6 separate regions of the Homo sapiens genome follow, and regions 1, 2, 4, 5 and 6 are each linked to region 3. Evidence: promoter capture Hi-C in 16 types of primary human blood cells and fetal thymus (Javierre and others, 2016). All regions are on one chromosome and are shown on one strand. The core of a region is centred on a gene start or on the middle of the fragment in contact, and the rest is flanking DNA. Distances in the headings are between cores, read along the strand shown.

Evidence for each region. The method cuts DNA at HindIII sites, captures the fragments that hold promoters and counts their contacts. A CHiCAGO score of 5 or more calls a contact.
Region 1: a fragment that was not itself captured here is called in contact with the fragment with the promoter of LIX1 in region 3 in 1 of 17 cell types (M2 macrophages); the score reaches 5.2 in M2 macrophages.
Region 2: a contact is called between a fragment that was not itself captured here and the fragment with the promoter of LIX1 in region 3, in 6 of 17 cell types (M1 macrophages, M0 macrophages, M2 macrophages and 3 more). The highest score is 12.8, in M1 macrophages.
Region 4: a contact is called between a fragment that was not itself captured here and the fragment with the promoter of LIX1 in region 3, in 2 of 17 cell types (M1 macrophages and M2 macrophages). The highest score is 5.9, in M1 macrophages.
Region 5: a fragment that was not itself captured here is called in contact with the fragment with the promoter of LIX1 in region 3 in 2 of 17 cell types (M1 macrophages and monocytes); the score reaches 6.8 in M1 macrophages.
Region 6: a fragment that was not itself captured here is called in contact with the fragment with the promoter of LIX1 in region 3 in 3 of 17 cell types (fetal thymus, erythroblasts and M2 macrophages); the score reaches 6.1 in fetal thymus.

Annotation. Positions count from the first base shown.
Region 1 is chr5:96,916,951-96,921,050 of GRCh38, reverse strand. ERAP2 (endoplasmic reticulum aminopeptidase 2) reads right to left here. Exons shown (of 19, transcript NM_022350.5): 19 at 1,348-3,589. The coding sequence ends at 3,446. It also overlaps a transcript of ERAP1 not described here. Among named protein-coding and RNA genes, the nearest start is that of LNPEP, 17 kb to the left of the region's middle. RefSeq lists an enhancer at 892-941. The HindIII fragment of the contact is 5,592 bases long and covers 1-4,100 here.
Region 2 is chr5:96,983,667-96,988,257 of GRCh38, reverse strand. It overlaps LNPEP (leucyl and cystinyl aminopeptidase), which reads right to left. Exons shown (of 18, transcript NM_005575.3): 3 at 3,040-3,178; 4 at 1,588-1,719. Among named protein-coding and RNA genes, the nearest start is that of LNPEP, 50 kb to the right of the region's middle. The HindIII fragment of the contact is 679 bases long and covers 1,490-2,168 here.
Region 3 is chr5:97,140,610-97,144,612 of GRCh38, reverse strand. It overlaps LIX1 (limb and CNS expressed 1), which reads left to right and starts at 2,002. Exons shown (of 6, transcript NM_153234.5): 1 at 2,002-2,118. The coding sequence starts at 2,037. RefSeq lists an enhancer at 1,986-2,055. The HindIII fragment of the contact is 8,667 bases long and covers 1-3,415 here.
Region 4 is chr5:96,966,738-96,971,366 of GRCh38, reverse strand. The region is part of intron 1 of LNPEP (leucyl and cystinyl aminopeptidase); the gene reads right to left. Among named protein-coding and RNA genes, the nearest start is that of LNPEP, 33 kb to the right of the region's middle. The HindIII fragment of the contact is 6,549 bases long and covers 1-4,589 here.
Region 5 is chr5:96,940,420-96,944,590 of GRCh38, reverse strand. The region is part of intron 1 of LNPEP (leucyl and cystinyl aminopeptidase); the gene reads right to left. It also overlaps the pseudogene RPS20P16. Among named protein-coding and RNA genes, the nearest start is that of LNPEP, 6.4 kb to the right of the region's middle. The HindIII fragment of the contact is 2,453 bases long and covers 854-3,306 here.
Region 6 is chr5:96,894,632-96,899,245 of GRCh38, reverse strand. ERAP2 (endoplasmic reticulum aminopeptidase 2) reads right to left here. Exons shown (of 19, transcript NM_022350.5): 7 at 3,887-4,000; 8 at 2,742-2,873; 9 at 2,383-2,514. It also overlaps a transcript of ERAP1 not described here. Among named protein-coding and RNA genes, the nearest start is that of ERAP2, 20 kb to the right of the region's middle. RefSeq lists an enhancer at 2,061-2,120. The HindIII fragment of the contact is 2,192 bases long and covers 396-2,587 here.

The DNA of each region.
Region 1 (4,100 bases), core at 1,424-3,923, 220 kb after region 3:
TAAAGGATCCAGAAACATATCAGGGGAAGTGGTAACTTAAATATTACTAGAGATCAGAGTTTAACATCTGGTACTGACAGCTACAGAATGTATGAATAAGAAGAAAGTGAATTAACACCCTTTTAAGGAAACTACCCAGCACAGACTATTAAAATAGAAGATTATATGAAATACACATATGCTTCGACCTAGTAAAGCCACTTCTTTCATGATCCTTTTCAGACTTTCTTCCTTATGATTTGGAGACCTGGCTTTGATGAGATTAAGATACCAGGAAGCAGACAACCAAGTGCATGATTGGTTTAAAGTTTGTAAATGTATAAGTTGTAAACCACTATATGTTGAAATTTTAAAAATAGTGATACGTGGTTACATGGATGAAAGAAGGTCAATAAAGAATAGAAGTGAAGGAAAAGTAGCAGAGTAAAAATGTGGCCATTTTGAGCAGGCTTATGTTTGGTAGACATTAGTGTTCAGGTGGAAAACTAGTTCCTATGACTATTTGGAGGCTTGCCCTATGGCTGGGGGTGGGATAAAACACAAAACAAAAAATTTAAAAGACCAAAAACCCCTGGAACTTCCTCAGAAAATCAGGATTCCTTGCAGTAGTTTCTGGCCAGTTCTGCTCATCTAGAACCTCAAATGGGCTCAATGTCATAACAAGGAATGAAGAGCAGTAGCATGTACTGATATAGGACAAGAAAATCCTTACCATGGCAGTTAGACTCCTTTTTTTTTTTTTTTAAATGACAGGGTCTAGCTCTGTCACCCAGGCTGGAGTGCAGTGGCATGATCTTGGCTCACTGCAACCTTCACCTCCCAGGATCAAGTGATCCTCTCACCTCAGCCTCCCGTGTACCTGGGATACATGTGCCACCATGCTAGGCTAATTTTTGTATTTTTTTGTGGAAACGGTTTCGCCATGTTGCCCAGGCTGATCTTGAACTCCTGGGCTCGAGTAATCCCCCTTCTTGGCTTCCCAAAGTGTTGGGATTACCTGCATGAGCCGCCACACTTGGCTAGTTAGACTCTTGAGGGTCAAAGTGTCCACTCTTCCCCATACAAAGCCATTGGTTCTGGGCTTTCATAATCTGAAAGATTTCTCATTATGAGTGAGTTGCTGGAACCACATAATTCTCAATGGGCCTTGTGAAGAATGGGGGAGGCCCAGAGAAGTCAAACCTGTTCACCTCATCATATATTCATGATCTTGCATATAACTTTTTCACATCTGATTCATTCAGGGTAAAAGAAAGTAAAAGTAACACAACCAAGTCTGAAGTTGGTGTTGGTGGCCTGGCATCTACCACAAGGCTTTTGAAATACTACACTAATAAGTACAATACATTTATTTTTAAAAATCTATTTATTTATCAAAACAGTATTGGCACAGTAATTCTCATATTATCATCAAATAATAAAATTGCTACTTTCTGTACTCAATTCTTTAGAATCCTAGAAATTGCAAATGCATTCAATTTAACAATATTGTAAATAACAATACAAAAGAAAGAACTCTGCATATTTATGGAAACATTGTTGATGGTACAGTTCTACTGAAACTCATACACATTTCACTATTTAATTTACATATGGTCTTGTTGAAAAAAACCAGTATGTTTTACTTTTTCAATTTCCTTATGCTAAAATACATGTAATTCTAAAGGATATCTCTTAGGTGTTATAAAAACCAAGGAAGGTCCACCACCAAGTCAAAGTTAGAGTCAAAGATACTTCAAAGATTCCATGAAATGATCTGAAAACAAATTTAACCAAAAAATGTGTACTGTATTGGGGCACATCCATGGCCACCCAAACTGTATTCTATCTCTGACTGTGGCATCAAAGAAAGGTATATGGAATTATAATTGACCTTCATGATATTGCTCCAAAGTGGATTGACTAACACTTTCCCCTCTTGACCCAACATCCCAAGTCTTCCTTAATAATGCAAACATCAGTCATTTACATATTGTTTTGAGTCTTTCTAAAACTTATCTGTATTTTTATACTGTCTCATATATAGGATCACAAATTAAGTTTACTATCTGTATGTAGAGTGATCTTTTCTTTCTTTATTCCAAACTACCTTATTCAAATAATTAAGAGAAGCATTTAGCAGGGCATTTCAGAGAGCAAGAAGCGCCCTTAAAAGAAGGAGGTGGGGGGTTTCCTTAAAATATGAAGAAATGCTAAAGCTGGGTTATAAAATATGGTGCTGCATCTAAATATTTACATTCAATTATCATTTAACCGAAAATACACAATACAATCTAATTCTGCAAATTTCAAAAGATTTATTAAAAATGCAATAGTGTATGAATTATATTCCTTTCTTGTGTCTCTGTGAGGGCAGATTCGACTTCATTTGGAATGATCTCAAAAATCTACCCTTGAGGTACTTCATGAATGTAAGGCTTAAACCAAATGGTATGAATTATATTCCTTTTCCTTTTGTATCTCTGTGAGGGCAGATTTATTCATTTGACCATTCATTCATTTGACCAGAGACCATTCATTTGGAATGCTCTCAAAAATCTACCCTTGAGGTTCTTCATGAATGTAAGGCTTAACCCAAAAGGCCTTCCTGGCCTTCTTGATAAACCCTGACACCTAGTTTCTAATAATCTGAGATTTGGTGGCAAAGTCTCTGGTTTCCTGATCCTTGCCTTTCATAGTTTGTATATTTTATGCATTGGCTAATTTTCCTTGGACGTAAAACTGGTTGGGCAAACTATAGAATACTAAGCAAGGTTAAAAAAATTAAAGAAGCAAAATAGTGGCATAGCGTGAAGCAATGGAGAAAGTCACTTGAGGCTAAATAATTACAGCTGTATCTATATATCTATGTCTGTATCTCCACATATATCCATTATTCAGGAAGTTTACTTTTAAATAGGATACTGAACTGGCCTTCCCCCACCACTCCATCATCATGCATCTTTTGGCTGGATACGATAGCTGAGAGCAGGCAGCTGCACTGCCTGATTTCTTGAGACTTCTTGTTGGTTAGACAAAATATCCACAGCTCTTGACTTGAGCTTCACTGGTGTTACCCTGTTTGACTTCATGCAGGCAGTCATGTCTGATGTACCTTTTCTTTTCTTTTCTTTTTCTTTTTCTTTTTTTTTTTTTTTTTTTTTTTGAGACAGAGTCTCGCTCAGTCACCCAGGCTGGAATGCAGTGGTGCAATCTCGGCTCACTGCAAGCTCCACCTCCCGGGTTTATGCCATTTTCCTGCTGCAGCCTGCCGAGTAGCTGGGACTACAGGCACCTGCCACCATGCCCGGCTAATTTTTTGTATTTTTAGCGGAGACGGGGTCTCACCGTGTTAGCCAGGATGGTCTCCATCTCCTGACCTCGTGATCCGCCCTTCTCAGCCTCCCAAAGTGCTGGGATTACAGGCGTGAGCCACCGCGCCCAGCCTACTTTTTCTATTGACCATTTAAGTATTAACCATTAGCCAAGTCCTCAGAGTCGGAAGATTCTTCTCCAGCCATTTTATATTTTTGGTTATCGTTTCCAGAACAGTTTGAAAAATATCCAGATGTGATCCTTGAGCCTCAAGAGATTCAAAAAATAGTTTCACCTGTAAAATATTGAAGAAAAAAATTACTAACACTTTGTCTTGGCCGAGTGTGGTGGTTCACACCTGTAATCCCAGCACTTCGGGAGGCCAAGGTGGGCAGATCAATTGAGCTCAGGAGTTCAATACGAGCCTAGGCAACATGCCAGAACCCCTGACTCTACAAAAAATAACAACAACAACAACAAAAATTAGTCGGACATGATGGTGCATGCCTGTAGTCCCAGCTACTTGGAAGGCTGAGGCGGGAGGATTGCTTGAACCCAGCAGGTGGAGGTTACAATGAGCCAAGATGGTGCCACTGCACTCCAGCCTGGCTGACAGAGCGAGGCAGTTTCAAAAATAAAGAAACAATAAAACCACTTCGTCTTCCAAAAATTTTCAAAAGAGCTTGCAAATTACATACACACAGGTATAGGCATTTCTCTGCCAACCTCTAAAAGGTTATTTTCTACTTTTCTGCATAATTGTTCACTTTATTTTCAAACAATAGGTAAAGTAAGACAAAAATTAT
Region 2 (4,591 bases), core at 580-3,079, 160 kb after region 3:
TTTATAAGGAAGGCCTTGATTATCAAATGATGAATCTGAATGTAATCCTACAGGTAGTGTGAAGCAAACACAGCAGATGAGAGAAAGGGGGAAAAAGGAAGAGAGAGAGTGAAGAGGAAGGAAGAAAAGAAGGGGGGAAAATGCCAAGACTGCATACATTTTGGGATACATAAAAAGTGCTGGGGGTTTTATACCAATGAGTATTAAGAACTACAAAAAAGAGATAATTAAAGTGCTATGAAAGATCAGAGAGGGAATGATTAATTCCAGCTGGGGAAAGAAAGAAATGCTTCATGGAGAACGTAGTATTCAGCTGAGTCTTGAAGCAGCAGCAAACCTGACTCTTTTAGATTGGGCTTCTTAGGCTTTATCAAGGCTGCAAACTCTAAATCAAAGGCTAAATATGTAGTGCAACACCTGAAGTGGAATTAATTGAATTATTTCAGATTTAAGCCAGTTATAATATCCTTTTGAAAGGATTCTGAAAAATCCTTGACATAAAGTCTTTCAATCCAAAGGTGAGTGAACCATTATTTAGCGCTTAATATTACAGTCTACACTTACCATTAAAAACTTAGTTTACTTTTTGAGTAGCATCATTAAAGGCATACAGTATTATTACTGATAAATCACCAGAGAATCCTTATCTCTGTCCTTATCTCTGAAAGGTATGGGATAGACGTGATAGTCTTTTCTAATAGGAAACATATACCCTTTTGAAGTAGCAAAATGATAAGATCCAAGTATCCTGTGATTAATATAAAGCTCTTTAGTCTAGAAAGGAAACCCAAAACTAGCAGTATATTCCCTGGTAGAGCTCAAAAATACGAAAACAGAAACTAAGACATTCTATCATATTTCTATCATCAAGAATAATTGTTTTTAGTTTAATAAATATGATAGAATGCCTTTTCTCCTTCTATGTTGTCAGTATTTGAAAAAATTAACTTTATTAGGTTTCTACTATGAAATCAAAGTATAAAGTCCAATCAAATAATCATTTACAAACAGGTACAAATGATAAAGAAAAACAGAAGAGTCTAATTTTGGCAAAATACAGATAAACCAGACCCTTAACTAAATAGACAATCTTATTCATTAGGAAGAGGAATCTCATCAGGATTTGCTTTGAAAAAAGGGAGGACTCATCTAATTTTTACAACCTAGAGCTATCGAATATGTAGCCACTAGTCACATGAACACTGCTGAACACTTGAAATATGGTTAGTGAGACTGAGGAAGTGAATTTTAAATTGTATTTAATTTTTATTTATTTAAATCTAAATATTCCCCCTAAGGCTAGTGGCTACCACTCAGTTCTAAAAGCTTTAGTATACATATAGTGTCTTACTAAAATTCTCTTTAAAAGTAAAATTTTTTAAAACTTGAAAATTATTGACTTTCAGCTATTAAACTAGTAACAGTAAATAACAGCTAAGCAAAAAAGTAGCATTTCTGGTATAAAATGTCAGAGTGTGATCTAAAAGCTTATTTATTTCACACAGCAAATACCAGGAATCGTTAAAGCAAGAGGTCCTCTGAGCCTCTTGTGACACAGGCTTTCAGACAATTACCACATCAACATACCAGGGTTCCATTTACGTCCTGACTCAGGTTCTTCATCTCTCCCACAATGAAAGCAACCAAGTAAGTGCTCATCTTCACACTCTCAGAAAACTCATCCTGAACAAGTCCATCATCTAGAACGACTGATGACTTCTACAAGCAAAGGGGAAAAGACAGTTCTGTAACTATAGGAATAAATGGCAATAACAAACAAACTGAGAAACTGAAAATTCAAATAGGAAATAAATGGTAAAGATGCTAGCATATTATAACCTCTCAGTATGAATTTCTGCAAAGAGCATGGCTCCTAGTCTCAGTCTGTTGTACCATCCTTCATCCTGAGGACATATGGAGCACAGTGAAACTCCTCAAGGAGTTTTTAGTCCCAAAGATGACCAAATAAATGTTAAGTTAAAGATAGTCACATTGGTTCTGCTTCTCCCATTAGAACACCTCCAAAACCAAAATCCTTCCTTATGACCTGGGATTGCTCCACTCTACTGCTACAAATACATCCACAGAAGGAGCTCTAGCTGCGACATCCCTTCAAATGATCTGAAATGGCTTCATGGGGTGCCATGTTGAGGACCCCCAAGAAAGCTTAGTGGGAACAAAGTCAGTAGTAAGTCATTAGAGAAGTCTGCAGCAGACACAAAATGAGGGAATGTAGGCAACCTTATAGAATTTTCCAACCACAAATTAAAGTAGGCATCTGCCTCTTTAGAGAAAGATGAAGGTGAAGAGTATGGCTGAGTGTGCAGAGTAAGCTGGTACAGTGCTGTCTTGTTACAGATTATGCTCTCTGCTGCCTACAGGATTGGCTCCATAGCCTGCTGGGTATGGCTGCTGCTCCTCTCCCTTAGCCACATGGGTCCAGGAGGCTCCTATCAAGCTGCACAGTCCCTCAGGTGTCTAAGACCAAAAAAAAAAAAACAAAAAAAGACCCCCTAGGCTCCAGGTTTTGTTTGGCATAAAAACAATTATTGGTTTCACCCTCACTGCATCCCACACAGAGCTAACATCTAAGAAAGAGGCTCCTGTTCTAGTTGTCAATCTCCATATTATAACAATATTGGTTTTTCATTTACCAATAAAACACCAAAAAGAGTTATTATTCAACACTCTCAAATAACAGTTTAGAATAGCAAATTCATCCTGTCTCAGAAAATATTACTCTAATCTTTTGCTAGTTCATTGTATTAATATTTGCACAACTTAATATACAATGCACACTCACATTTCCTATCCACACATTCCAAGTCCAGCAGGTCTTTCTCTTTCCTCAAGTCCTCCTCAAGGTGACTTCCCAACTGATGCCAATATATTTTAATTTTTATTTAAGTATTTTAAGGAAGAATATTAATGTATATGATTTTAATCATTCTCAACTGTAGTCTGGCAAAGAGGAATTTAAGTGTTCTTAAAGAAAGAGACCCATTCAAAGATTTTTACATTCAAGGAACAGAACAGTACCTTAGGCATATTTGATAAAGCGGTGTATTGCTCATCCCTTATGATCTTGATGATAAAAGTGGCTTTAAATGCTGGTTCATCAAAACAAGGAAAAGCAGATCTTGCTGCCAGGGGTTCAAACTGAGTTGCTGCAAAGTACCTAAAACAAACACAAATTCAATCCAGTAGTTACTGAGCACCTACTGTACAAGGCACCCTGCCAAGTATACTAAGATAAATATGTTACAATCCTAGTTACTAAAGGATCTGCAATAAACTGGGAAAGGCAGAGGTTTATACAATGAACAGAAACTTACATCAGGCTGTAAGTCATGTCCTAACAATGAAAATAAAGCAATGGGAACAAAGGGAAGGAAACAAATTCTGACTAGAGGTTGAAGATATTATAAGGAAACATGCAGAAAACCTGAAGAGGGCCTAAAAAGATGAGTATTTGAAAAGGTGAAGAAGGGAAGAAAGTATACTCTGGAAAGAGTGGGTAACACAAGTGTGGCAAGCCAGATCTCACTAACGCAGGCCTCCATAACAACTGTTTCAGTACTGGCTGAGTGGTTAAGTTAAATATTAAAAGCCAGTGCCCTTATACAAAGGCTGGAATTTAACAAAAGCCCACCAAGAGTTTTGCCTGGGTCTTAAAGCATGACAAAATAATGAAGGAATTTTTAACAGGACCCATTTAGGATTAAATAAGTTTTATTGGAGGGTCTGAAGAAACTCCCCAGGCCTCCACAAACAATTACTGGAGGTCTGAAGGAACTCCCCAAACCTCCGTGATTTAGCAGGAGACAACATAAGGGTAATCACCCCAGCACCTGGACCCATTTAGATTAAGTAAATTTACTGAGGCTCAAGAGGAAGGTCTTCAAGACTCGGACCTTAGTTATGGATTAAAAGAAGTTAATCACTTATGTCTTTAGAGAAATGCACACTTACACGTAAACATATAGTTTAGAAGGTATATAAGCTCTGGAAAACTTTGTAATTTTGAGTTGTTCTGGCAATAATTTCCAGGCCTTCTCCCTATATAACTGGTTATAGAAATAAAAAGTCTCTTCCCAGTTCATCTGCATCTCGTTTTGGGGCAGCAAAAAATAGCAGCCTGACCCTCAGTTTGGTCCGGGAACACAAGAGAGCAGTGCATGTGCAGAAACTGGGGGTGGCTGTCCAGTGTGGCTGGAGATGAAGCCACAAAGGTAGGCTGCAACTGGCCACTGAGGTCTTAAAAAGGTTTCTGATGGAAGATTATTAAGAAGGGTGGTCATTAATTGCTGCGAATTATCTGTACAGACTCTGGCTTCACGATACCAAACCTCAAATTCACAGCTTGCATTTTCATGAAGATTGAAAAAATTAGGTGTCCTGTAGTATTCTGGTTTCCTTTACTCGCCTCAGAGATTAAAAAAAATTTCCTCCTCTTTCTGTAGCACACCAACAACAGTTGAGAATATGACACAGAAAAATCCTCAATTACAGTCCAGGCCAGGTGGCTCACGCCTGAAATCCCAGCACTTTGGGAGGCCAAGGTGGGCGGATCACTTGAGATCAGGAGTTT
Region 3 (4,003 bases), core at 753-3,252:
GGCTACCCTGGAAAAATATTTTAAATAAAAGTTTGACAATCCTCAACAACCTCCTTCAACAAGTAACATTGGTTACAACCACTAAAATTAGTTATTTTATATCTGGTATAAATCCTTATTATGGAAAAGGAATCCTGTGACTTATATTTATGTCTTCTATGGAAAGATTATTTAACAAAGTGTTACAGGTAGTATAGATCATGAATAGGTAGAAAAAGAATTTCTGTTTTCTTAAGATCTTTAAAGGCCAGGCATGGTGGCTCATGCCTGTAATTCTAGCACTTTGGTAGGCCGAGATGGGTGGATCACTTGAGGCCAGGAGTTTGAGACCACCCTGGGCAACATGGTGAAACCCCCTCTCTACTAAAAATACACAAATTAGCCAGGTGCGGTGGCGTGGGCCTGTGGTCCCAGCTACTAGAAAGCCTAAGGTGGGAGGACCGTTTGAGACTGAGAAGTCAAGGCTGCAGTGAGCCCGGATCATGCCATTGCACTCCAGCCTGCATGACAAAGTGAGACTCTGTCTCAAAAAAAAAAAAAAAAAAGGATACAGCTAGGGACTAAATTAAGCCTTGCATTTGAATTCAGGAGCCACTCTTCTGGAAGCCAAGGCTTGTTACCCCCCACAACCCTCCCAAATTTTAGTCACTTCTATTGGGCAGGGGCAAGTAAAACCTGACAGACTGTCTTACAGCTTGCCTGGGAACATTTGTTTCCCTATTTACCCTTCAAAGTGAATCATTCCCAAGGTTGACTTTAATTAATTCTGATGTAATTCACTTCCTTTCACTTAATAATTATTAAAAATTTCAGGGCAGGGTGCAGTGGCTCACGCCTGTAATCGCAGCACTTTGGGGGCCCAGACAGGATGATTGCTTGAGCCCAGGAGTTTGAGACCAGCCTGGGCAACACAGTGAGACCCCATCTCTACAGAAAATTTAAAAATTAGCCAGGCGTGGTGGCGTGTGCCTCCCAACTACTTGGGGTGCTGAGATGGGAAGATTGCTTGAGTCCAGGGCTCAAGCCCCTCACTTGAGTCAAGGCTGCGGTGAGTTATGATCACGCCACTGCACTCCAGCCTGGAGGACAGTATGAGACCCTATTAAAAAGAAAAATAAAACAAAGAAACAGGACGAGAAAATACATATATGTTTCTTAAGGTAGTTATTGAAAGATTTTTTTAAAAAATTGAGACAGGGTCTTACTTTGTCACCAAGGCTGGAGTGCAGTGGCACAATCTGGGCTCACTGCAGCCTCGACTTTCCAGGCTCAAACCATCCTCCTGCCTTAGCCCTCCAAGTAGCTGGGATCACAGGCATGCACCACCACACCCAGCTAATTTTTGTATTTTTTGTAGAGTTAGGGTTTCGCCATGTTGCCCAGGCTGGTCTGGAACTCTTGGGCTCAAGCGATCTGCCCGCCTCAGCCTCCCAAAGTGCTGGAATTACAGGCATGATAAACTGCACCCAGCCCCATAATCTTTATAGCACTCCTTTACCAAAGAAGAATTACACTGAAAATTTAGATTTATAGGGATTATACTGTTAACATATAGCTGGCAGTCCTGAGCTGGAAGCTGTCTTGTCATTCAGGAAATTTCCTGGAGAAATAACCTTCCTGATTCCATATTCCTGGGGGCAACACAATTGAAGATGGAGGGCCAGAAGAAATACTCAAGTCAGAAAGCTGCACAGCATTCAGACAAAATCTGGTTGGAGAGGAAAGCTGTTTTCATAATTTAGCGAGCTTCCCCAGCTAGCCTGTAGGTGGGTGTGTTTAACAGAAGAAAGCAATGGGAACCCGCCTGTCAGCCAGCCTTTCGAGCTAATTAGCTCAGCATACAACAAAGATAAGTGAGCCTGGGAAGAGGGCCCCCTGAGGGGTCTTTAGATTCTGGGAAATGTCTGATTGGCAGATGTTAAAAGGGATTCCTTGGTAATCCAGTGCATCAATGAGCTGCAGAAATTCAGCCCAGGACTGCAAGAATTCAGGCATGAGGACACTCTGTACAGGAGGCTCACACAGGCAGACCCAAGATGGACAGAACCTTGGAATCTCTGAGACACATCATTGCCCAAGTCTTGCCTCACAGAGATCCGGCTCTAGTCTTCAAAGACTGTAAGTACTGAAGGGGGAAAAGTTTTTTGACTTTTTAGAAAATAGTCCTAAACGTCAAGTCACATCCTATTTAAGTAAGATTTCTCCTAAATCTCTGCAGTCGTATGCTGTGTTCTAAGTGATATTTTAACTTGTTCCTGACTTCAGCCAGAAGAACGATTTCATTTCACCTACAGGCATTAGGCACTGGGTTATTCTGTCAGTGATACATCTTGCTAACTACTTAGAAGTCTCTTCTACAATCCAAGACCTGCCTAAGACTTAATGAACTTTTTCTGATGCTTTTTAAGTAAAGCAAAGCTGACTGGTGTTGAGATTAAACCTAAAAATAATTTGGAAATGATACTAGAATATATCAATATTTGTTAACCTGTTTAATACTCCACAACACATATTAGCTATGTTAATTCAAGTATCGTGTTTGTCTGAAAATATTTGTTGCAAACCAGAATTAACAGTAAATCACCACTGAACTTTTAAATTTTGATAACAGATTATAATGCTTTAGTTAAAAGGCCAATAAAATGAGATGCCTCCTAACCTCAGCAACACTCCCTGTGTGGACCCCCTACCACCATCACCAATTTATACAGCATGGCAAAGTTATTTCAAAATCTTTTTTTTAATGATTTAAAAATAATTCAATCAAGATTTCCAATTCTAGCAATACTATTAAACCATTTGTCATATAACTTCGTTTCTGGAACCAATTTGATTTCCTGCTGCTGCAAAACAGACTATCTTCATGTTGTATCTTATCTACAGTGGGTTTCATATTACAAAGGGCTTCTGAAATAGAACTGCCCAAAAGGTAAAATGCATATGGAATTTTTTTTAACTTCAATAGGTTGCAGCTTTCCTCTTTGTGAATCTAGTTGTGTTTGTCTCCATCAAAACATCAATGGTTTGAATTTTTGCTTTCTGATTGCTGAATAACGTTCCATTCCAGATGTCCTCTTAGCTTAGATTTCTCATATGTATGTTGAAGAAAGAGGAATGTTAGGCCATTTAATTCTATAAATTTTTCCTCTTAGATGTTAAATTGTAACCAATCTGTCCTTTAAGGCATAAAGTGAAAGCCTTTTCTTTCTCTAGCTCTCTTTTTAAATATTGTCTTTAGGCATTTGCCAATAACTATGTTAGATCTAATAAAAATCACTCTCTCCACTACTCTAGCCTGGAGTCTATTCAGGTTTGTTATGTTTTTTAAGCGAAAAGGGGAGGAAAGAATGTCTCTCTCCTACAATAGAACTGATTCACTAGTGAGGGATAAAAGGGCTCTCGGGCTGCCCAAGCTTTGGATAAATTGTATAGGACCAGGGTTCTTATGCTGAGCATTTAAATAGGGGAAGCAGTTAAAAAAAAAATAGGGGGGACGTTTTTCACTGGCCCATTGAAAACTTAATAAGTTCAAATGTGAAACTGTATAGCTCATTTTTTAGCTGAACTAAATTGCTGCGATTGTTTACAGTTTAGAAAAGAAGATAGACTAGAAAAAGGATTACAATAAAGCATACATTAAGTTCTGTCATCCAGGACTTTGCAGGACTTCTTTTATATGGGAGAACAAATAAGTGTCCTGTTTTATATATTTCATTCATTAACATAGAACCTATATTTGACCAGAGAGCATTGCCTGTTTACCCTAGAATGGACTGCTACTCGGCAACTGCTTGCATGGCTTAATAGACGTGAATATTAAACTGCCGATTCTCTCCCTTCTTTTCTAATCTGAAAAATGACTAAATGACAGTAAGCCAAATGGCACATTTCTGTACCAGGAGTTTTCCTAACTTTAAAACATCCAACCACTTACCAATCTCGTGGAATAAGTGGGAATGGGCTGCTTACTTTCTGGGACAGGACATTAAAAGTCTGTCTGGAG
Region 4 (4,629 bases), core at 66-2,565, 170 kb after region 3:
ACACACACACACACACACACAAATAATAATGTCTTAAGCACATCATGGTCAAAACTGCTTAAAACTAAAGATAAAAAGAAAACCTTTAAGAGAACCTGGAAACAATGCTACATACAGATGAACAACAGTACATACACTAACTTCTCATGTCAACGGTGGAGGCCTGAAGATGATAGAGCATTTTTAAAGAGTTGGAAGACAAAGAAAATTCTAAACTCAACTTTGCACATACAGTGAAAATATGCTTCAAAATCAAGAGTAAAAGACATTTTCAAATAAATGACAGCTTACAGAATTCATTTAGAACACATTTTCCTCAAGTAGATGTATACTACAAGAAATTTTAAAGGAGGTTCTTCAGGATGAAGGGAACTACTACCAGACGGAAACTCAGATCTTCAGGAAGGAGAGAATACCAGAAATAATACATGTTAAAATAAAAGGTGTACATTCTTTATTCTTCTTATAATTTCCTTAAAAGACTATCTTTAAAAACTGTATGCTTAAAACCAAAAAATAAAAGACAACAAAAGCACAGAGAATACAGAAGTTGAGTAAGAGAAATTAAGCAGAAAGGAAGAAGGGTCAGGTATAGAATGTGAAATGGTACAATACTGACTATACACAGACTTAATGATGCATATTATTAATCCTAGAAGAAACACTGAAAAAGTGATTTTAAAAAGATGCATAGTTAAGAATCCAATAGAGAAAATAAAATGAAATACTAAAATTGCCCACTTAATCCAAAAAAAATGAATAAAGGAGAAACAGATAAACAAAAACAAAAGGAACAAATGAAAACAGTGGCAACATGGTAGACTTAAACCTGACCTATGCATTAACTGTAAATGGATTAAACATTGTAACAGAGACTGTCACAATGGGGACAAAACAGCAAGAAACAACTATATACACTGTCTGTAAGAGATGCATTTTAAATTTAGACACAAATAGATTAACAAAGAAGAATATTTTATGATGATAAAAGGAGAAATTCAGCAGGATATCAATCTTAAATATGTATACCTAATAACAGTGTTTCAAAAAGAAGTTTTTTATGAAGAATAGAACAAACAAAAACATCCACAACCATATCCTTTCTCTTCATAACTGATAGAACAAGTAGACAACAAATAAGTAAGGTCACGGAAGATCGGAACAATACTATTAACTAATTTGACCTGACATTCACAGAATATAAAATCAAACAACTGCAGAAATACATATGAAACATTCACCAAGATGGAATAAAGCAAAATAAAATAAAATAAATCACAATCAACTTCAAAAGACTGAAATATGCTTTTTAGAGACTTTGTTCTCTAAACACAATGGAAACAATTAAAAAATCAATTAGTAAATTAGGTAAACAATCCCTAGATATTTGGAAAATAAAAACAAAAGACTTTAAGTAATCCATAAGTCAAAGAAGAAACCACAAGGAATATATAAAATATTTGAAATAAATAATAATAAAAACATAATATATCAAAATTCAAGAAAATTTATTGCTTTAAATGCCTATATTGGGAAAAGGTTTAAAAATAACGACATTTCCACCCTAAGAACCTAGAAAAGAATACCAAATTAAACCTAAGTAGAAAAAATAATAAAAAAAAAACAGGGCAAAAATCAACAAAATAGAAACCAGATAAACAACTGAAAAATAATGCAAAAAATGCTGCTAGAGGGCAGGAAAGTAGTGTGGACGGCTCTAACTCATATTCTCCTAGAAACTGGCCCAAAAATCCACACATACCATTGTCCTGGTGCATCTCCAAAACCAATTTTTCACTTCTCAAAAGTCTAGTTAGGTAATTTAAAGGGACAAATCAGAACTGGGTCACAGGCTAGAGACAGAGATCTTTTAACAAGCCCAGCCGTCTTACATCTGTCCCTCTTTCAAGACTATCTGGCAAACACAAAATTATTTAGCCAGTAATAATACCAGTTATGCCCAAATTTAGAAAAATACAGTATGTTCTCCCTCTCCTTTCAAGTAAAAAGCTAGGGAAATTTTCTTTGTAAATCCAAATATTTAAAATGAACTACAGAACTGCTATTTAAAGGAAACTTCTTATGAGCTCATCAAAAGTTAAAAAAAAAAAAAGCAAGCATTCTTAAGCAAAAAACTACTTAACATTCATTTTTGTATTTGGATTTCTGTATTTCTTTCTTAAAAAGGGAAACTCCTTTTAAGTGTCCACTTAAATTTTAACTGAGTTTTTCTGGATAGGAAAAAAAGCCCTCATTTTGAAGTATCTGATTTAAAATTCTTACTTCATTTGAGGTAATCACAATTCTGAGGCTCATTTTGCATAAATATAACCATTCTGCAGTTGTTCAGGTCACAGCTATGTGAAACAAATCTCCACAGCTAGGATCTTTGTTCTAAATCTAAGAGACCCAGTGGCCCTGTATATAAACAAACTAAATTGGTCCTCAGCTCTCAGCCATGCTTCCACAAATCCCTAAAGCACATACAACCACGCACAGTGCCTGCTCTGCCTCTGAACAGCATGTGAGACCATACACATGTTACAAACATCTTGGTTTCTCTCAAGCATGCATGGCAGCTATAGCCACTTCACTTTGTCCCCTTATCCCATCCTCTTCTCTGCAGCCCATAGGCTTTTTTTCTCCCTCTTTATTTATTATACCGGTCCAATGTAATCTTTTCAAATTCCTAGTTTCTTTCACCTTTAAAAAAACCAATCCAACTATTATTGGAACAAATGTCTTACTCTGACCAATTTTCCTACTCTCCCTAAAAGAGTACGCCATACATAGTAAGATGTACAAATGTTCTCTTAAGACAAAAAGGTTATAAGAACTGCAATAAAGAAATCCTTAAATGGGCCCTGAAAAAAATAACCCAGAAGACTTCCACAAATATTATTATATTCACTTTCCCCCCAGGGTAAGTCCCTGGACAATCAAAGAAAAACAACTTGATTTATAGTAAACGACACTATCTAATAATCATTCTAAAAGTAATCCTGCCAACTTGGGGGATTATCCAGTACAGGCTTGCTTCTTGGTAGCCACTGTACATAGAGTTTTGTTTATAATTAGACTGTGTAGTGTTAATTATGCTGGTTGCCCTGCCAGTATCCTACAGAGGCTACAGGAGGAGATCAAAACAATCATTCCAGAATTATGAGTCACTTCACTCTCTCCCCACTACACACCACTGGCAGCCCCTCAACCCTGGAAAAAGGAAATTATGCACACTATTTGCCTATACAGTCTTTCACATTTAGGATGAAATATTGAGTTCCAAAACCTGCTCTACATTTACTTTTCTAGAATAACGGATACATTTCAATCCTGGTAACTTTTTGCTGTTCAAGAATTAGAAGTTGAGGATAGAAGGTTTAGGAAACTCTCAAGGCCCGGTTTATGCTGTAGAAAAAAAGAATTTCTGCATAAGTAAACTGCAATTATAAATTTTGCTCCAAATATGAATAATTCCTCCAAGGAGAGGTTCATAACCTCATTCATCTTTGTATTCCTGGTGCCTAGCAGGGAAGAAACCTGCCATAAATGTTGAAATGAAAGTAGCAATAATCTAATATATTAAAATGAAGTATAAACAAAAATTACCTCCATGTCCATGCATAAACTCTTCAAGGGCTGAATCCAGGTTTACTGGAGGCTTGGAATAAGATAAAATTCATACACTGTCTATAAGGTTAACAAGGTCCTTCTAATACCTGCTGTGGGGCTGGATCTTAAATCAGGAGGACTTAGTAGTATTTCAGTGACTATGGGATCTGAGTCACTGCCTTTCAGTTCTACTAGACACTGATTCTTGAGAACTACTTTTTATATACTTACTACTTTTCCTCTTCTTTCCTCAAAGCTGGTTGATAATTCAAGTCAATTATGGTTTAGAAGACATAAAATATAGTGAAGACGCCAGGCACAGTGGTTCATACCTGTAATCTCAGCACTTTGGGAGGCTGAGGCAGGAGGATCACTTGAGGCCAAGAGTTTAAGACCACTCTGGACAACACAGTGAGACCCAGCTTCTACCAAAAAAAAAAAATAATAATAATAGCCAGGCTACAAATTGTAGCTGTCATCCAGTACGTTGAGTTTTACTGTGTAAATGCAGTATAGTACATGAACATGGCCTTTAGAGACACTTAATTCTTAGGGATGTTTTGGGAGCAGTTATAGTGTTTTTATATCAAGGCAGCCATTTGACAAATGTCTTAGAAGTCAGATGACTTAAAATGTAAAATCTGTGTGTCAAAATCTCTGTGAAACAGATAATATCTAAAGTTCCACTATACCTGAGGGTTCTCCACGGACATTGTTCCAGCTGACCCTAAAAGACGTCAAGAGGCCAGAGTTGTTGCTTACGTAAGTGATTTGGTATTTTTGGTGTTAAAGGCAAAACAAGGTTTCTGGACTTTTCATATTTTAAGAATTTACCTACTAATGTGTGCTGTGAATGACAATGAAACATCATTTTTAAGGCATGAGGGGGAAATTATGCTAATGAATCTTAAAGAGAAAGACTAGTGTGCTTTGCTGAAAAGTTAAAGACACGTTTATTGTCTTATGATTTTGAAGCTTCTAACCTAATTATTTAATATAATAGCAATGAGCTCTTTA
Region 5 (4,171 bases), core at 831-3,330, 200 kb after region 3:
TCTCAAAAAAAAAAAAAAAAAAAAAAAAAAGCAAAAATAAGAAAAACAAAAAAGAAAATCTTTGAATCCACCTATGAACTGGAATAGAAGTCCCCGCTTTGAGTTATCCCCTTTCCAGACTGAGCCAATGTACACTTTACATGTATTGATTGTTGTCTGCCTATAACTTCTGTCTCCCTAAAATGTATAACATCAAGCTGTAACCCAACCATGTTGGGCACATGTTCTCAGGACTTCTTGAGACTGTGCTTTGGGCCTTGGTCACACATTATTTATCTCAGAATAAGCCTCTTTAAAGATTTTACAGTTTGACTCTTTTCATTGACAATGAAATGTTTCATTGACAATGTAATGATGTTTCATTGATGAATATACTAACAACTGTTTTAAATTTGACAAAATAACAGTTTCAGCTGTGAGAAATACTATGGCTTAAGCCTCCTTCCTTACCAGAAATTTTCTCTATGGCACTGAATGACACCTGAGTCAGTTGTCCGGGAAATGCTCCCACATAGCACTGTTCATCACTTGCTGCAAGAGGAAGGGAGCACACCCAACCCATAGAGGCATCCTTTTCTCACTGCACTCCTCATTCTTCTGTTCCCTCAGTTGAAGAAGCCTTCTTTAACTTCCTTCACCCCAGATCATTGGCTGGAGAAGACTCTGAGCCCCACAATCCAGAGAAATTCAGACAACTGATTCAAGTTCTGGTTCAGTGACTACATTTTTGAAATATGTGGAATGCCCAGGAGTACCTTCATTAAGCAATATGTATTAGAAGAAAAAGAATTTCAAAAAGTCTCCTACAATTGAACTTGATCCTCCATTGTTTTTTGAAACTCCCTTGGAAGCTTGAATTTTCCTTATTTGGCAAATGACCTGGTTTCCTCCTCATTTACATGTTAAGGATGGAATTTTAAAAAAATTAATTGGTTCATTGTTCTATCACAAGCACCAGTAGAAAAGTGAAGCAAAGCCAGGCTATAAAGAATAGTAGGCTGGCCACAGGGCCGCACTGGCTCACACCTATAGTACCAGCACTTGGGGAGGTCAAGACAGGCAGAACATTGGAGCCCAGGAGTTCGAGACCAGCCTGGCCAACATGGCAAAACTCCATCTCTACAAAAAATACAAAAATTAGCCAGGCATGGTGGTGTGCACCTGTGGTCCCAGTTACTCGGGAGGCTGAGGCAGGAGAATCGCTTGAGCCTGAGAAGTCAAGGCTGCAGTGCTGTGGCCGTGCCACTGCACTCCAGCCAAGCAAGACCCTGTTCCCGTCCCTCCCAAAAAAAGGAACAGCAAATGACTGCTACCATGGTAGTCCCAAAAGGTAGATAGCTCTCTATAGTTTTCTTTTTTTTTTTTTTAAACAACTGGTAATCATTTATTAAAATAGTTGACTTAAGCATCTGCAATGGTGACTTCAACCTCAACTCCTGGCTCAATAATGATGGAAGTAATCTGCTTAACAATCTCAGAAAGACTGTGGAAGTCAATGAGTCACTTATGGATTCTCATCTGGAAACAATACCATGTCTCAGAACCTTCATAAGAAGTTTTTCTTGTAATGTTTCTCAAAGTCTTGGTAGGCATTCAAACTGGTCCTATCACTTTAGATTCTTTTCCTTTGATCCATTGATCAAGTCGGCACACACCTTCTCCAAGGATTTTACCTTGCAGCTCGTTAGAGTGATTCTTTTTATTTATTTATTTTTTTATTATACTTTAAGTTCTAGGGTACATGTGCACAACGTGCAGGTTTGTTACATATGTATACATGTGCTATGTTGGTGTGCTGCACCAATTAAGTCGTCATTTACACTAGGTATATCTCCTAATGCTATCCCTCCCCCCTCCCCCGACTCCATGACAGGCCCCAGTGTGTGGTGTTCCCCACCCTGTGTCCAAGTGTTCTCGTATTTTTTTTTTTTTTTTTTTGAGATGGAGTCTCGCTCTGTCACCAGGCTGGAATGCAGTGGCACGATCTCGGCTCACTGCAACCTCCGCCTCCTGGGTCCAAGTGATTCTTGTGCCTCAGCCTCCCGAGTAGCTGGGATTTCAGGCACGTGCCAACATACTCAGCTAATTTTTGTATTTTTAGTAGAGACAGGGTTTCACCATGTTGGCCAGGCTGGCCTCAAACTCCTGACCTCAGGTGATCCGCCTGCCTCAGCCTCCCAAAGTGCTGGGAGTATAGGTGTGAGCCACCGCGCTGGGCCTAGAGTGATTCTAATTCAGTGAATTGCCACCTCTGGCTTCATGGGCGTTTTTCTGTATCTCCTGACCAACCTGTTTTTTGGTGAGAGCGAGCGGCGGTGAGTCAGGAGCAAGAGCAGGCTTACCACAGCTCCACACCACGTTGTTTATCAAAGAGCTATATTTTTTCTTTAAATCTAAAACATTCAGACAAGTGAACAGTCCCAACTTACGAGTGACTGAATTTTCTGACTATAAAAAAGACAGTATGCTTAAATTTCTGGCAAATGTTTTCTATCTCTTGGCAAGGCTCCCAAATGCCAATCTTAACTCATTTGTCCCCTGAGCCCCCAATTCCATTAATCCAACCAGACCTACCTACCTGTCCCCTTCCAACCTAGACTCTGTCTTCAACCTCATACAACAGTGTCCTGCTCTCCAACTGAAGCTCATTTCTGAACCAAAGACTTGCAAGGATCAAGGCATGACCATTTTTAAAATCTCTGCCTATCAGCTTCTTCCTTTACCCCCAATCTCCACATTTCTTTCATCTTCATCATTGATTCTCCTCTTCCAATTTTCTCTAAACATCTTTGTAAAATGCAAAGTCCTTCAGGTGCTGCTAGGACAATCACAAATGAATTACAACAATGGATAAGGTTACAAGGGAATCCTGTCCACCCTTCCATGGACACAGAGAACTCTTGATGTTCCATTTACTGTCCAGAAACACCAAGGCAATAAGCAACACTCTCTATAACGGCCATATGTAGATCTAGGTCAAGATCTAGATATAAAAAGAACTGTACCACCACAAGGGCTCCAAAATGTCCCTTCATTCTCAATCCTGGCTTCTTGCAAACTTTCAGAAAAGTTGCTGAAATTTATCTACGGATTCAAATTAAAAAAATAATAATAAATAAATAAATAAAAGACTGTGTCTTTCTGGTTGCTCCAATTATACTATGGAAAGGCCTAGTAGTATCAGCTCAACTCCAGCCCCCTACAGTAGGTTTGCCCAACCCCAAGGCCACAGACCAGTACCAGTCTCTGGCCTGTTAGGAATCAGGCCACACAGCAGGAGTGAGCAGCAGGCAAACAAGTGAAGCTTCATCTCTACAGTCAGTCCCCATCGTTAGCATTACCACCTGAGCTCCACCTCCTGTCAGATCAGTGGTGGCATTAGATTCTCATAGGAGCACGAACCCTATTGTGAACTGCGCATGTGAGGGATCTAGGTTGTGTGCTCCTTTTGAGAATTTAATGCCTGATCTGTCACTGTCTCCCACCACTCCTAGATGGGACTGTCTACTTGCAGGAAAACAAGCTCAGGGCTCCCACTGATTCTACATTATGGTGAGTTGTATAATTATTTCATTGTATATTACAATGCAATAATAATAGAAATAAAGTGCACAATAAATATAATGCACTTGAGTCATCCCCAAACCTTCTCCCCTTTAGAATATATCACAAACTAGAAAGTATACATACATCCCCCCGACTGTGGTCCCTGGTCCCGAAAAGTTTGGGGACTGCTGCCCTACAGTTTTCAAGTCATGAGGTGACTAATTGACAAAACATAGCTGCACTGACCTCACCTCGACTGCCAAGAACCACAGGCCTCATCTAGGTCCATCCCAACATCTGGGGTAATCTTGGCTAAACTCTTTCAAATCTCAATTTCCTAATGTTTTCATAGACAGGGTTAATACTGCTGTTTCCTAATAGGAGTATTACACTAAATTAGTAGACATGCAAACAGTTATGAACAGTTTCTGTACATTTATTTCATAATTAGAATACTGTCTTAGACAAAACTTTATTGCTTTTTTATTTCTTCTGTGTTTCCATATTTCATATTAGCATGACAACAAAACTAGGTTCTTCTATTCATTTCTCTTATTTAGGTAAGCATTATCTGATGACGAGGTTGTGGGTTTTTTTTTTTTAATGTAACTGTGTCTAGCAGAAA
Region 6 (4,614 bases), core at 242-2,741, 240 kb after region 3:
TATTGGACTTAGAAGACAAATTTTAAGTACTGATTTTCTCACTGACTTGGTGACTTTGGGCAAATCTGTCCCTTAGTATCAGTTTTCTCACTTATAAACACAGAGTAATGATGATTACTTTATCTTTTGAGATGATTATAAGCATGATGTGACAAAAAATAACACAGGAATTTACACTGCTGGCCTAAAATGATCTGGTAATTGCTGGCCAAATTTTCTTTTTAACTCCCACCCTCTACTGCCAGTATGCACACCAAATGATAGATTCTTCCGTGTTGGAGGGGAGCTAAACTGATGTCTACAAATATACATACATGCACACACACATGGCAAGGGAGAGGGAAATGGAGAGGGATGAGAGACAGAAGCAACACAATACTTGGTGCTGAGAAGCTTAAGCGGAAGCATGGAGAAAGTGTGTCTGGACCACTGACGGTGGGTGATGGAAATGGATAGTAAAGAGCATCTTTATATGTTTTTTGTTTGTTTGTTTGTTTTGTTTTGTTTTAAGACAGAGTCTCACTCTGTCACCAGGCTGGAGTCCAGTGGTGTGATCTCAGCTCATTGCAACTCCGCCTCCTGGATTCAAGTGATTCTCCTGCCTCAACCTCCCGAGTAGCTGGGATTACAGGTGATCCACCAGACCTGGCTAATTTTTTTTTTTTTTTTTTTTGTATTTTAGTAGAGATGGGTTTTCACCATGTTGGCCAGACTGACCTCAGGCAATTTGCCCACCTCGGTCTCCCAAAGTGATGGGATTACAAGCATGAGCCACCGCACCAGGCCTATAAGTATTTTTGTAAGTAAAAACTATGTATTTGAATATGTCTCAGGATTTTCAAGAAATGCAAGTAAAAAATAGGAGCTGTGAAATAATTTTTGATTGTTGGATTTTGTTTCTTTAACCACAAAATCACACATCAGTTGGACCATAAGTGTGCTTTATAAGGGCACAAAAATATCAAATGAGATAATCAACATGAAAGTGCTTTTTATTCTTTAACTTTGATTTTTTATTTATTATTAATTATTGTTATTATTATTATTATTGAGACAGAGTCTCACTCTGTCACCCAGGCTGGAGTGCAGTGGTGCAATCTCGGCTCACTGCAACCTCCAGCTCCTGGGTTCAAGTGATTCTCCTGCCTTAGCCTCACGAATAGCTGGGATTACAGGCAAGCACCACCATGCCAAGCTAATGTTTGTATTTCTAGTACAGACGGGGTTCCACGAATTGGCCAGGCTGGTCTCAAACTCCTGACCTGAAGTGATCTACCCACCTTGGTGTCCCAAAGTCTTGGGATTACAGGCGTGAGCCATTGTACCCGGCCATGAAAGTGTCTTTAAACTGTAAACTGCTGCAGAAATATTAAACAATATTATTACTGTCCCTGGGACACAAGTGCTTGTAAAAAAGAAAGGATCTCTTCTGTCTACAATGACTTAGGGTTCTTCTAATTACAGGTATGAGTTCTCTGGGTCTAATGGTTCTATAAAAAATTATTTTCTTTGCAGTTGGAAATTTTAAAATATTTTAATAATTATTAGAATCATCTGAATTAACTGAATTTTTCTGCTTTGCCTTTCCTATTATCTACATGAATCCCAAAGACAGACCATAAGTTCTTTAATCAATCATTAACTGCTTATTAATCACTATTATAAGATCAACATATGCTAGGTGCTATCACATTAAAAAAAGAATAGACACAATTTTTGTTCTTAAGCACATTATCATTATTGAACTAATAAAAACAATAAAAGAGGGTACTATTATGTGGAACAGATTATAAGTGCACTGCTAAGAATTTAGCAGACAGGCAAACGAATGAGGGCTGGAACAGTCTGTAAGGAGGAGGTGAAATCTCAGCTGGATCTTAAAAGTTGGGTGGCATTTGAATTGTTGGAAAGAAGAAAGGGCATTTCAGCTAGTAAAGGCACTAGAAATATAGGCACAATGATCTAGAGATTGAGCAAGATTTCTTCTTATAAGAGAGAAGATTAGTTTTGCTCAACAAATATATACACATTGGGGAATACAGTTGACAACCTTAAAATTTGCCAGAGATTAGGTGTTATATGGTAGAAATTACAACATTTTAAAGATTTTAGATCAAGGGAACATAAAAGTGTAGGATTAGTCGTAGAAGAGAAACCAAAGAAAGTCAGGTCAAATAGTGAGCCCCTGGGGCCACCCCAGCGTGACATCCTAGTGTGGTGTTAGAGGAAAAAGGGAAGTGCTGCCTTCTATAGACCATGACAACATAGCAAGCAGAATAAATATGGTTGACTGACAATATATAGCTATTTATAAACATTCACAATTATTCTGTTACTTTCTAGATTAAATAACAGTCTATCGTTACCCAACATATGACTTACATTTGACAGACTGCTCCACAAGTCATCATTCTTAGCATTTCTATAGCTGAACTTCTTTAAGTACTGAATTATTCCTTTCTGGAATTTCTCCTCACCCAGAAAATCCTTGAGCATATTCAAAATACAAGCTCCCTTTAAAAAAAAACAAAAGAGTTGAAAAAAGAGATAAAGAAAATGGTAGTATGGTATGTTTTTAAAGGAAGCTTAAATTTTACGGAACATGTGTGATGTCTGAAAAGTGAACAAATAAAAAGTGAAACAAGTAGCAGGAACTGGCACCAGTGACTTAAACTGCTGATTCTATAGTCATTATTACACTTCTGAAAGCAGAGCTTCCACCTGCACCTGATATTTACTACCTTGTTATAGGAAACTTCATCAAACATTTCCTGTATTTGAGTCGGGGTTTCCGCTGGTTTGGAGATAGGGCGGGATGAATTCAATGAATCTTTTGTAATTACTTCAAAACACACATTCAAAAAATAGTCATCCTAAACAGGGAGAAAAATGTTTAGTTTTAGTTTCTATTTGACACTGTAAAAGCAATAGAAAACATAGTAGGTTTAGTAAGATGTTCTTAGAGGTAAGATTTCAATCGATATTTCTTGGGAGATGTTTCTTTTCTTGTATGTATTCCCCTTTGGCCAAAGGGGAATACATCTTTTTAAAGTTTCTCTACTTTAAAAAGATACAAATCCAATATTCCTTCAGACATTGCCTGAATGTTTATCATGTACCAGCCCTTGAATACAGAAATAAAATAATGGTTTCCATTTAGTGAATACTTGTTACGTGCCTAGACCTATCATCTGCAATCCTGTCAACACCTCTGCAAGGGAGATATGGTATATGCATTTTACAAATAAGAATATATAAAGCTTTGGCATTAAGCCACAAATTCAGTACATACACAGTAACAAGAAGAGCCTAACTTTGAATCCATGTCTGTCTATAGTGTACTGGACTAAATATATATCCCAAAGACCTAATTAACCATTACTAACCACCTTGATATGCAAATTTGTGTAGTGTTCAGACCACTATATTCGTTTTTAAAAAAGACGTACCTGAAGAAATCCCTTCACACATTTTGGGGAAGCCAGCAGACCCTTTGGAAATTCTAGAAAAGTACACCCCCAATGATGTTGATTTCAGGTTACATGCCGAGAACTCTCTATAGTACCTAGTAGCCATGAGCATTCCTGTGCAGATGTATACAAACAGTGATGTTCTTTCCTCTCAACCCACATACACAGTTCTACATTTGTATTAGTTTGCCTTCTCTCTTTACAGACTTTGGGGTGACAGATTTATGTTGATTGTTTTCTAAAACCTTCAATGTTTCATCCAGTTCTGTGATCTGTTTCGTGTATCAAACAAAATGCCATATGTTCAAAAACCACAACATTATGTAGTTTTTCTGTTTAACATTCACTTGAAATTTTAATAGTGAATTGATGATTCTTTACACCATATAGTATGATACACAGAATTGTGAACTTACAAATTGCAGCTCTGGATATGTAGCATTAACAGCGATAAGTTCCATGTATTTTGCAAAACCCTCCTTAAGCCAAATATCATTCCACCATTCCATTGTGACCAGGTTGCCAAACCACTAGGAGGTAAAAACTCAATATTATTAGAAGTTAAACAAATAAAAATTATTAACTTTAGCAAAAAATACAATAGTTACTAACTTTTTTTTTATTAGTTAGGATCTCTCTTCTCTCTTTGCTACCCTTTTCTCTCTGTACAATTTTCTTCTACTGATTTCCTTGCCTTCTTATTCTCACCACCACATTTTTGCTTGGTTTTCTTTTTTCTTTTTTTTGTGTGTTCTCAATGCCCTTAACTCTTCGACTTTCATTCTATCTGCCCAACATTTCCTAGTTATTAGATTTAATATTAAGAAAGAAAATGGAACACTTTATGGAGGTAGTTTTTTTCTTTCCTGCCCAATAAGAACAATCTCACCTTGTCCTTGATATATGATGATGTTCAAGGGAGAAATATAAATCCAAGTGTCCTGGGTGAAGTTATCTTTTTATATTAAGTAGCAGGTACTTAGGAGAATCATAAGAATTCATTTAGGGCTCTCAGGTTGTTATATAATATTACTGAAGAGCAAATTCAGTTGTTAACCTCTGCCCCTGACTTACTTCAGTGGGCCACTAGAAACAATAAAGGTCTAAGATTTAAAAAATATATAAATCAAATAAAAAGGATGCA